3 separate regions of the Homo sapiens genome follow, and regions 1 and 3 are each linked to region 2. The links are contacts of gene promoters, found by promoter capture Hi-C in blood cells and fetal thymus (Javierre and others, 2016). All regions are on one chromosome and are shown on one strand. The core of a region is centred on a gene start or on the middle of the fragment in contact, and the rest is flanking DNA. Distances in the headings are between cores, read along the strand shown. Region 1 overlaps LOC124904728 (a long non-coding RNA gene). Region 2 holds the start of NOVA2 (NOVA alternative splicing regulator 2). Region 3 has its middle 33 kb from the start of HIF3A.

What was found. Contacts are between HindIII fragments. The CHiCAGO score rates a contact against its expected background, and 5 or more counts as called.
Region 1: a fragment that was not itself captured here is called in contact with the fragment with the promoter of NOVA2 in region 2 in 2 of 17 cell types (M1 macrophages and M2 macrophages); the score reaches 6.1 in M1 macrophages.
Region 3: a contact is called between a fragment that was not itself captured here and the fragment with the promoter of NOVA2 in region 2, in 2 of 17 cell types (M1 macrophages and M2 macrophages). The highest score is 6.3, in M1 macrophages.

The regions. Positions count from the first base shown.
Region 1 is chr19:46,244,046-46,247,512 of GRCh38, forward strand. All of the region lies in intron 1 of LOC124904728 (a long non-coding RNA gene), which reads right to left. Among named protein-coding and RNA genes, the nearest start is that of IGFL1, 16 kb to the left of the region's middle. The HindIII fragment of the contact is 232 bases long and covers 2,000-2,231 here.
Region 2 is chr19:45,972,485-45,975,828 of GRCh38, forward strand. It overlaps NOVA2 (NOVA alternative splicing regulator 2), which reads right to left and starts at 1,381. Exons shown (of 4, transcript NM_002516.4): 1 at 783-1,381. The coding sequence starts at 867. RefSeq lists a silencer at 1,547-1,706. The HindIII fragment of the contact is 31,968 bases long and covers 1-3,344 here.
Region 3 is chr19:46,262,047-46,265,375 of GRCh38, forward strand. No RefSeq gene overlaps it. Among named protein-coding and RNA genes, the nearest start is that of HIF3A, 33 kb to the right of the region's middle. RefSeq lists enhancers at 432-1,631, 3,266-3,329. The HindIII fragment of the contact is 8,186 bases long and covers 1-3,329 here.

The DNA of each region.
Region 1 (3,467 bases), core at 866-3,365, 270 kb after region 2:
TGGCTCTAGATAGAAGTCAATTCTCCATTACCATTTACAATGACATCAAAAATAACAAATACCTAGAATTAAATCTAAAGAAAGGTGAGAGACCTCTACAAAACTCTGCTGAAAGATGTTAGAGAAGACCTAAACAAATGGGAAATAAACCATATTTATGCTTTGGAAGACTCAATGTAATAAAGATGTCAATGTTCCCCAAATTGATCTATATATTCAAGGCAAACTCAACAAATATTACAGCAAGATTTTGTATAAGTTAACAAACTGATTCTAAAATTTATCAGAAAATGATGGCCAGGTGTGGTGGCTCACACATGTAATCCTAGCACTTTGGGAGGCCATGGCAGGAGGATCACTTGAGCCCAGGAGTTCAAGACTAGCCTGGGCAACACAGTGACACCCTGACTCTACTTGCACAAATTTAAAAAAAAAGGATCAGAAAATGAAAATGACAGAAAATGAAAATGACAATACAATATTGAAGAAACTAAACAAAGTTATAGGACTTACACTAACAGATCAGGAATTTTTATGAAATTATAATAATTTAGGGTGTGGTATTGTATAAGGTAAACAAATTTATCAATGGAAAAAAACAGAGTTCAGACACAGATCCACACATAGACAATCAGTGATTTGTGACAAATGTACCACTACAACTCACCAGGCAGACATTAGTCCTTTTAATAGATATCTATATGGGGGGAATGTATCTTGACCCTTATGTCACACCAAATGTGAAAATTAATTTGAAATGGATCATAGACTTAAAAGCAAAAGATTTCAAACTATAAAGCAGGATTTCCAAAAGCCAGTGTGAAGAGCATGGGCGCCCTCCTCCCAGCAAAACAACCATTTAACTGGTGAAAAAAAATTTTTAATAAAAACAACTAATTAAGTCTCTGGAAATTGTCCTTAGGGCATATCGCAAACGAAGAAATGTTTATTCAAGAAATTCTGTTAGCCAGGTGCGGTGGCTCACACCTGTAATCCCAACACTTTGGGAGGCTGAGGAGAGCAGATCACCTGAGGTCGGGAGTTCGAGACCAGCCTGACCAACATGGAGAAACCCCGTTTCTACTAAAAATACAAAATTAGCCGGGTGTGGTGGCGCATGCCTGTAATCCCAGCTACTTCGGAGGCTGAGGCAGGAGAATCCCTTGAACCTTGGAGGCAGAGGTTGCAGTGAGCCAAGATCACGCCACAGCACTCCAGCCTGATGACAGAGCAAGACTCTGTCTCAAAAAAAAAAAAAAAAAAAAAGAAAGAAAGAAAAAGAAAAAGACATTATACTCAATCTGTAAACAGCAGCAAGAGTCTGAGGGCATTTAAGCCACACATTACTCCTATTCCCCACATCCCCAGCCAACTCTGTAATTGAAGCTCTATTATGGTCAGTCACAGTCAAGAAAATGGGACTCCACCTCTCCCCAGCTCCCAGCCTAGGGCTACAGTTTCAGTTCAGAAAGGGCAGTGCACCAGCATCTTTTATCCTGCTGTCTCCATGTTGCGGATGTGCTATATTAGTTAGAAATTGTGGCTTGCAGCACCGGGGCTCCTTCTCCCATCCAGCCCCTCCTCCTAGCGTGGAAGTTCCACGCCAGGTTTAGCAGGTCAAGCACACTGGGCTTCACTGATCCTGCCTGAGTTCACTCATGGGGCAGAGGTTCCACACAAGAAAGGGCAAACCGAGAAGACGAACAGCTACCACCCCCTCCCAGTGTTCTAGCTGTAGAGGAAAGACATCACCGCAGGAGAAGCTAGCTGCTGTCCCTGACACCAGCTCCAGTCCAGCGGCTCAGTGGTTCTGCCCGGGGGAGAGGGAGGCCATCAGAACAGAGAGCTCCACAAGTATCCCTAAAACTGGCTTTACTTGAAATAAGAGTGTGGAGAAGTTGATGCTTAATGACATTGAAAAAATAAAAAAGGAAATTTTGGTGCTGAAAAACCAAAAAAGGGCTTGCAGTAGCAACAACAAACAAAAAGACAAGGCAGAAGCTTAACAGAGATAATCAGAAAAAGAGATAACTAAGAAGGGCCCTCCTGGAGTGAGAGACAGCCTCAAACCCTGGCAACACTCTGACTTGGCAAAGAAGCTAGACTTTAATCAGCCCACAAAATGATTTATGCATTGTGCTATAGGCCTATTAAAAAGAATAGAGCAATCAATTAACAATAAGAGGAGTCTAACAGATGCAAGTGATACCAACAGAGGCAGACAAGCCAGAAGCTTAACAGAAACATCAAGGAAAGGACAGTCAAAAAGAGGCCAGCTTATGCCATAACTATCTGGAGTAGTTAGAGAGACAGTGCGTATGCTTAGGGCTGCACCCTCTGGAGAGCACTAAGAAAGGTATAATTGTTCATATGTAATTATGTAATTATTACTTGTATGCATGTTATATAATTATTGCTTATATGTAATTGTGTAATTACTTATAAAAACAGCATAATCGCTTATTTCTTACCCTTTCTCCCCTTAACTGGTTTTAAAAGTCATGGCATGAAACAATATGTATGTAATTGTATTGCTGGGAAAAATAAAGAATCTGATTTTTAAATGGGCAAGAGGTCTGAATAGCCATGTATTAAAGGAAGACATACAAATAGTCAACGGATATATGAAAAAATGTTCAACAACACTTATCATCAGGGAAATGCAAATCAAAACCACACTGAGATGTCCCACTTCGGTTAAAATGGCTTTTATCAAAAAGACAAAGAATAACAGATGCTGGCAAGGATGCAGAGAAAGGGGAATGCTCATATACTGGAAATGCCCCTCCAGACCCAGACAGTAAAATTTACAAAACATTTAGAGAAGAATTAATACCAATCATTCACAAACTTTTCAAAAAAGTCAAACAGAACTTTCCAATTTACTCTGAGGTCTGTATTACCCTAACACCAAAATCAAAGATATCACAAGAAATTAAAAAGAAAAAACTACAGACCAACATCTCTTATGAATATAAATTCAAAAATCCTCAACAAAATATAGCAAACCAAATCCAGCAGCATATATAAAGAATGATATATCAGCCGGGCACAGTGGCTCACACCTGTAATCCCAGCACTTTGGGAGGCCAAGGTGGGTGGATCACGGGGTCGGGAGATCGAGACCATCCTGGCTAACATGGTGAAACCTCGTCTCTACTAAAAATACAAAAAATTAGCCCGGCATGGTGGCACGCTCCTGTAGTCCCAGCTACTTGGGAGGCTGAGGCAGGAGAATTGCTTGAACCCGGGAGGTGGAGATTGCAGTGAGCCAAGATCGTACCACTGCACTCCAGTCTGGGTGACAGAGCGAGACTCCGAAAAAAAAAAAAAAAAAAAAACAATGATACATCATGACCAAGTGGGATTTATCCCGGGGATGCAGTTGGTTCAACATAAGAAAATCAATCAATATAATATACCATATTACTAGACTATAGAGGAAGTCACGTAATTCTCTCAAATGA
Region 2 (3,344 bases), core at 131-2,630:
ATGTGTCACACTCTGCCACAGCCCCCTTGGGGGTGACAAGCACACACCTTTCCTTGTCACACGTACCCGCTGGAGGGTCTCAAACATGGAGCCCAGCCCCTGTCCCCTGTCTTTCTCATACACCCCCCTATGCTGTCATATTCCTGATCCCTAATGTCACACATCCAGGCTGTAGAGGGCACACATACACACACACGCACACACATACACACCTGTCCTAGCCTCACATTCTCCCACCTAGCTTTACACACCCACCATTTCCTCCATTTCACCCCACACACCTACCCAGCCTGTCCCCACGCACGATCCGGCCAGGGCCACACAAGCCTCCATCTGGGACAACCCTTGTTCAGGACATCCCCAGGGAGGGAGGCTGGGAAGCTCCCGGTCCACAGGCCTCTACTCCTTCCCCTCCCCCAGCCAGGACACGCGAGCTCGGGGAACACCCCTGCTCCGAAAGGGTCACATCACACACCCCTCAAGGACACACAGACACCTGCCCTGAGGCTCCCACGCCCCCCATCTTCTGCGCCCCCCAAGGACACTTATCACCCCCTCCCCCCCACCCCTCTCCTCGCAGACAAAGCTCCCAGCCCCGGGCCTCAGCGAGAGGAGGAGGGGGTCCAGCCCCCTCCTCAACTCCCCGCTCTGTCCCCCGCCTCGGGGAGGGGTGTCTCTCCCCTCCCCAGAGCCCTTGCACCTGCCACGGGAGGGGGGGAAAGGATGGAGAAAGGCGAGGCCCCCTGCCCGCTCCCCCGCCCCGAGCCGCAGCCCTTTCTCACCTCCCGTGTTGCTGCGCTTGGTGCAGACCACCTCGGGGGGCGTTTCGAGGGGCCTCTTGCGGGAATCCGGGGCCTCGGGCTCCATGGGGGGGGCCTGGGGCGGCGGCTGCTGCTGCTGCGGCGGCTGCGGCGGCGGCGGCGGCGGCTGCTGTGGCGGCGGCGACGGCTGCTGGGGAGGCTGGGGTTGCGGCGGCGGCGGCGGCGGGGGCGGCGGCGGCTGCGGGGCCGCGGAGGCCGTGAAGAGGCCGTGCACCGCGCCGGCGGCCATCATCCTCATGGTGGGGGGGGGCGGGGGGCGGGGGGCGGGGGAGGGGGAGGGGAGGGGAGGTGGGAGGGGGAGGGGGCGGTGGAGGGATGGGGGAGGGGGAGCCCCGGAGAGGGAAGGCGGGGGTAGGGGGGAGCCGGTTCTCGGGGGGCTGACAGAGCCTGGAGAGCGGCCGTGAGCAGGATGGCAGGGCCGAGGGGGGTCTCCGATAGGGCCGGGAAAGAACTGAGAGGTGGGGTCTCTCCTGGGACCACAGAGGCTGGGGACTGGACGCGCCACTGGGGGGACGGGACTCCCCGCTTCTTCTTGGCTCCCTGGGGCAAGAGGGCCGAGCCCCCCAGACCCTGCTCGGGGTGGGGGGCCGGAGGAGCGTGGCCGGAGTGGGAGGCGGAGGCGGCCGCTAGTGGGGGCCCGGGGGGCGGCGGGCGCGGGCGGCGGCGGCGACGGGGCTGGCGGTGGCTGCTGGCCCGAGCATCTTCTTCCCGGAGGCTCCCACAGCGCCTGGCCCCTCCCACCCAACGAGGTCACGCCCATGCCGGGTAGGGCCACGCCCTTCGGCGCCCCCATTGGTCCAGCCTTGAAGCCTGGACCACGTCCCTCTGGGTTGGCCACGCCCCTCCCGGCGGCAGAGAGCTGGACCCGACTCCCCCAGGCTGCTGGGAGGACCCCGGGCTCCTCCAAGCCGTCCCCACTCCTCACCTTGAATGAACGTTTATTGAGCACTTACTGTGTGCCAGGTCCGGTTCCAAGCAAGCACGTCACAGACGTTATCGCATTTACTCCCCAGAGCGACCAGCTCTGTGAGTTACGCTTATTATCCCTATTTTACAGATGAGGAAACAGCCTTAGGAGCTTACTTTGACTTCACTTGGTCAAGACAAGAAATTTCGACTAGGCGCGGTGGTTCATGCCTGTCATCCCAGCACTTTGGGAGGCCGAGGCGGAAGAATCACTTGAGCCCAGGAGTTTGAGACGAGCTGGGCAACAATATTGTGAGACCCCATCTCTACAAAAAAAAAATTTTTTTTTTAATTAGCCAGGCGTGGTAGCACATGCTTGTAGCCCCAGGTACTCTGGAGTCTGAGGTGGGAGGATCTCTTGAGCACAGGAGTTTGAGGCTGCAGTCAGCCATGATCAAGCAACTAGATTCGAGCCTGGGAGACAGAGCAAAACCTTGTCTCAAAAAAAAAAAAAAAAAAGAAAGAAAGAAAGAGAAAGAAATTTCACTTCACTCTTTTTCAATCCTTTCAGCTGGGAAATTCCCCTTCAAATCTTTCATCCATCCTTTGAAGAATCAACACCGTGATGCTGAAAGGGCTCAGAGGATTGAATTCACTGAGCTGGAGTTGCAGCCTGCAGCACCTGCCCTGGGGCACAACTGGCTCTCCATTCAAACAACAGCACTCAGGGCCTACCTACTAAGTGCCAGGCACTGTCCCTGATGCTGCGATACAATAGAGAACAAAACAGCCTTGGCCCTTGTACAGTATTACTACTCATGTCATTAAGAAAAATTTGTTTTCAGATGACAAAGTGGAGGCCTGGGAACATTGAGGGTGGCTTCTTCAAGGGCACACAGCTTGAGAGAGAGAAACTGGGATGAGAACGCAGGACAAGTCCAATTTCAGAGCCCAAAGTCATTGGAACTAGGGTGCCTTTCTTTGGAATGGATCATTGCTATTATTCTGTGTTCCTTGATGCAAGAATTTCCTTCTCCCTGGGTTCTTAACCTCCAAGGAATCTTTCCTTCCTGGGTTGGTCAGAGGCAAGATTAGGCTCAGAAGGGGTCTGGATGCAGGTAATTGTGGCCACTGCGTGATCTGCGGCAGGGGGATCGGCTCCAACCCCCCCCTGCTCCTCCCTTGCCATGCTCTCAGGTCCCCAGGATGGGGGAGGGTAGCAGATGGCCTGGGGTGGATGGGGTGGCTACCCATCTGTCCCCTCCCCCCCATTGTCCCCAGAGCCAAGGGGGATGGGAGGGGGCTGTGGTCCACTGCAGTCTGGATCCTCCCCCTCCATCTTCCTGGAGGGAGCTGAGGAGCTGGTTGCCATGGAGATGGGGAAGAGGCAAGACGGATATAGGGAGATACGGGGGTCAGGCTGAGTACCACACCTTAGACCCTTTGAGTCAAATAGCCTCACACCACACAGGTACATATCCCAACATCCATGAAATTAGCTGTGAAGTTTCCCCCTCTGTGTGACACACACAGAGTCACACTGGCCCTGCTGCAGGTGCACGGTCTCAACACAGTCACACAGACACACTTATAGGGGATAGGCACACGTACACACAC
Region 3 (3,329 bases), core at 652-3,151, 290 kb after region 2:
TCCAGACCCAGCGGGAGCCGAGGATTCAGGAAAATCTCCCCAGTCAGCTCCAGAGGTGCCCACAGTGTGAGCTCTAGTGTCTCCCAGGTAGAGGCCAAAGCGTCACCTGCCCGGCCCTGGGGGTGGAAGTGGAGTAGACGGCACTCCTATCTGGGCAACCGAGTAAGACCCTGTCTCTGAAGAAGTACATACATTTACTTAGACTCCTCTGTCTTTGTCATATATATACATATATGACATATATGAGATATACATATTATATATATGATATATATATGATATACATATATAAAATGTCATATATATGTGTCATATATATATGACATTTTATATATAGGAGCTCAAGACCAGCCTGGGCAACGTGGCAAAACTCCACCTCTACCAAAACATACAAAAATGAACTGGGCACAGTCGCACACACCTGTAGTCCCAACTACTCAGGAGGCTGAGGTAAGAGGATGACTTGAACCCGGGAGGCAGAGTCGAGCTGAGATCGCGCCACTACCTGCCAGCTTGGGTGACAGAGCCAGACTGTGTCTAAAAACAAACAAACACCAGAAGGCAGTGATTTTTGCCCCAAAGTGATTTAACTCTCCCTAGTCATTATACAGAACAAGAAAAATAAGAACATGAATTAGTCTGGGCGCAGTGGCTCACACCTGTAATCCCAACACTTTGGGAGGCCGAGGCGGGTGGATCACTTGAGGTCAGGAGTTCAAGACCAGCCTGGCCAACATGGTGAAACCCCGTCTCCACTAAAAATACAAAAATTAGCCAGGTGTGATCCCAGCTACTCGAGATCTGGGTAGCTACTGAGGCAGGAGAATTGCTTGAATCCGGGATGTGGAGGTTACTGTGAGCTGAGAACACACCACTGCACTCCAGCCTGGGTGACAGAACGAGACTCCATCTCAAAAGCAAACAACAACAACAAAAGAAAAAGAAGAAGAAAGTGAGTTGACCTGTAATGTGAGAAACGGAAGTTGTAATCATATGTGACTCAGATCACAGTCATATCACTTAAAGTGCTGTTATGGTTCAAGTGGCTTTTAAATAATATTGATTTTCACAGTGGTCAGACCACATCCCTACCCTGGTTAACCCCACTTCATGAAGCAGAGCGTTTGGAGGGGGAGGATGGGAGGAGGAGAGCAGGAACCCAAAACCCTCACGTGGCTGCTCTGCTCAACAAACTGGAAACACCGTCAACTTATTTTGATACAAATCCCTATGACCCATTTTTATTCAAGAATTCTGTCACCTTTGGCTGTTTTTCTGAGGTTTCTCCATAGCACCTTATCCTAAAATTTTCTCTTTTTTTTAATTTTAATTTTAAATTTTTTTTTTTTTGAGACAGAGTGTCACTGTCGTCCAGGCTGGAGTGCAGTGGCGTGATCTCAGCTCACTGTAACCCCTTCCTCCCAGGATCCTCGTGCCTTGGCCTCCCGAGTACCTGGGTTTACAAGTGTGCACCACCACACCCAGCTAATTTTTGTATTTTTAGTAGAGGCGGGGTTTCACCATGTTGGCCAGGCTGGTCTTGAGCTCCTGACCTCAAGTGATCCAAACCCCCTCAGCCTCTCAAAGTGATTACAGGTGTGAGCCACCATGCCCGGCCCTGCTCCTGGAATTTTCTTACAGAATCAGAGCAGACACCATTCCTAGAGGTAGGAAACTATCTCTGCAATTGGCTGTTCTGGAAGCCAGAAACAAAGGACCGGCCAGGAACCCATCTCCCCTGACAATTGTGGAGGAGCAAGTTGAGGACTTTCAGGATCCACAATGCCAGGCAGGAGGGAGCAGCTCTGCCACACAGGGCTGGAGACCCCATCCTCGATGCTCAGCTGTCACTGCCTCGTGCTATTAAGTTGCCACATCCTTGATGGTTTAATGCCCAACTCCAGGGCTGCTTGCTCTGCCTGCATTGGTTGATTCTTCTGGAAAAATAAAACTCTATAATATTTTGATCCAGGGAGCCCAAGGACCATCTTCCCAGCTCTCTCGAATTACGACACAATCCTCGTCCTAACTCCACTAGATTGCCCTGGTTAATGGGGTAATTCTGTGAGAAAACACAGGCGCATCAATATTGCAGTGTCCCTTACAGAAGCGCTGAGAGTAACACTATTGCTTTAGTTGGGGTCCTCATAGAACAGGTGATACCTCATAGAATTTTCTAGTGCTTTCCAATACCTCAATTGATATCATTCAGATTCGGCCGGGCGCAGTGGCTCACGTCTGTAATCCTAGCACTTTGGGAGGCCAAGGTGGGTGGATCACCTGAGGTCAGGAGTTCGAGACCAGCCCAGCCAATGCAGTGAAACCCCATCTCTACTAAAAACACGAAATTTAGCCAGGCGTGGTGGTGTACACCTGTAATCCCAGCTACTTGGGAGGCTGAGGCAGGAGAATTGCTTGAACCCAGGAGGTGGAGTTTGCAGTGAGCCGTGATGGCACCACTGCACTCCAGCCTGGGCGACAGAGACAGAGTGAGACTCCATCTCAACATATATGTATACACACACACATATATATCTCAGATCCTCTAGTGCAAAGTCACATATCTGTATGGGAGCTCCAATAAATTGGAATGCAGAGGTTAAAGGTTAATCAGTTAGCTACACCTACTAGGAACTTTCTCTGTTATAAGGGGTGGTGCCCACCAGGGACTGGTCCCATGGCCAGTTCCCACATATAATCTAACCCTGTATGGGATTTTAGAAGGTGGGAAACAAAGCCTGGCACGGTGACTCACGCCTGTAATCCCAGCACTTTGGGAGGCCCATTCGGGCAGTTCACTTGAGGTCAAGAGTTTGAGGCCAGCCTGGCCAACATGGTGAAACCTGGTCTCTACTAAAAAAAAATACAAAAATTAGCTGGACATGGTGGCCGGTGCCTGTAATCCCAGCTACTCAGGAGCCTGAGGCAGGAGAATCTCTTGAACCGGAGGGACAGAGGTTGCAGTGAGCTGAGATTGCATCACTGCACTCCAGCCTGGAGGCCAAGGCAGGAGGATCACTTGAGGCCAGGAGTTTGAAACCGGCCTAGCCAACATAGCAAGTCCCCATCTCAAAACAAAAAGCAAAACACAATATTTTGACCCAGGCAGTGTGAAGGGGGCAGGTGGCATCTTTTTGAAGATGCCAGAAAATTTGGGACCTCCAAACTTGGACAATGTTAGCAGCTGTCTGAGGCCACAAAATTAGGCAAACCACACTGGAGAAAGAAAATCCTTCGGAAACCTGTTCATTTAGGCAACTGTATGAGTTTCAGCTGAATTTTCTAAATGCCTCTAAATTACATCCTCAGCCTGGAGGGACATCAGAGCT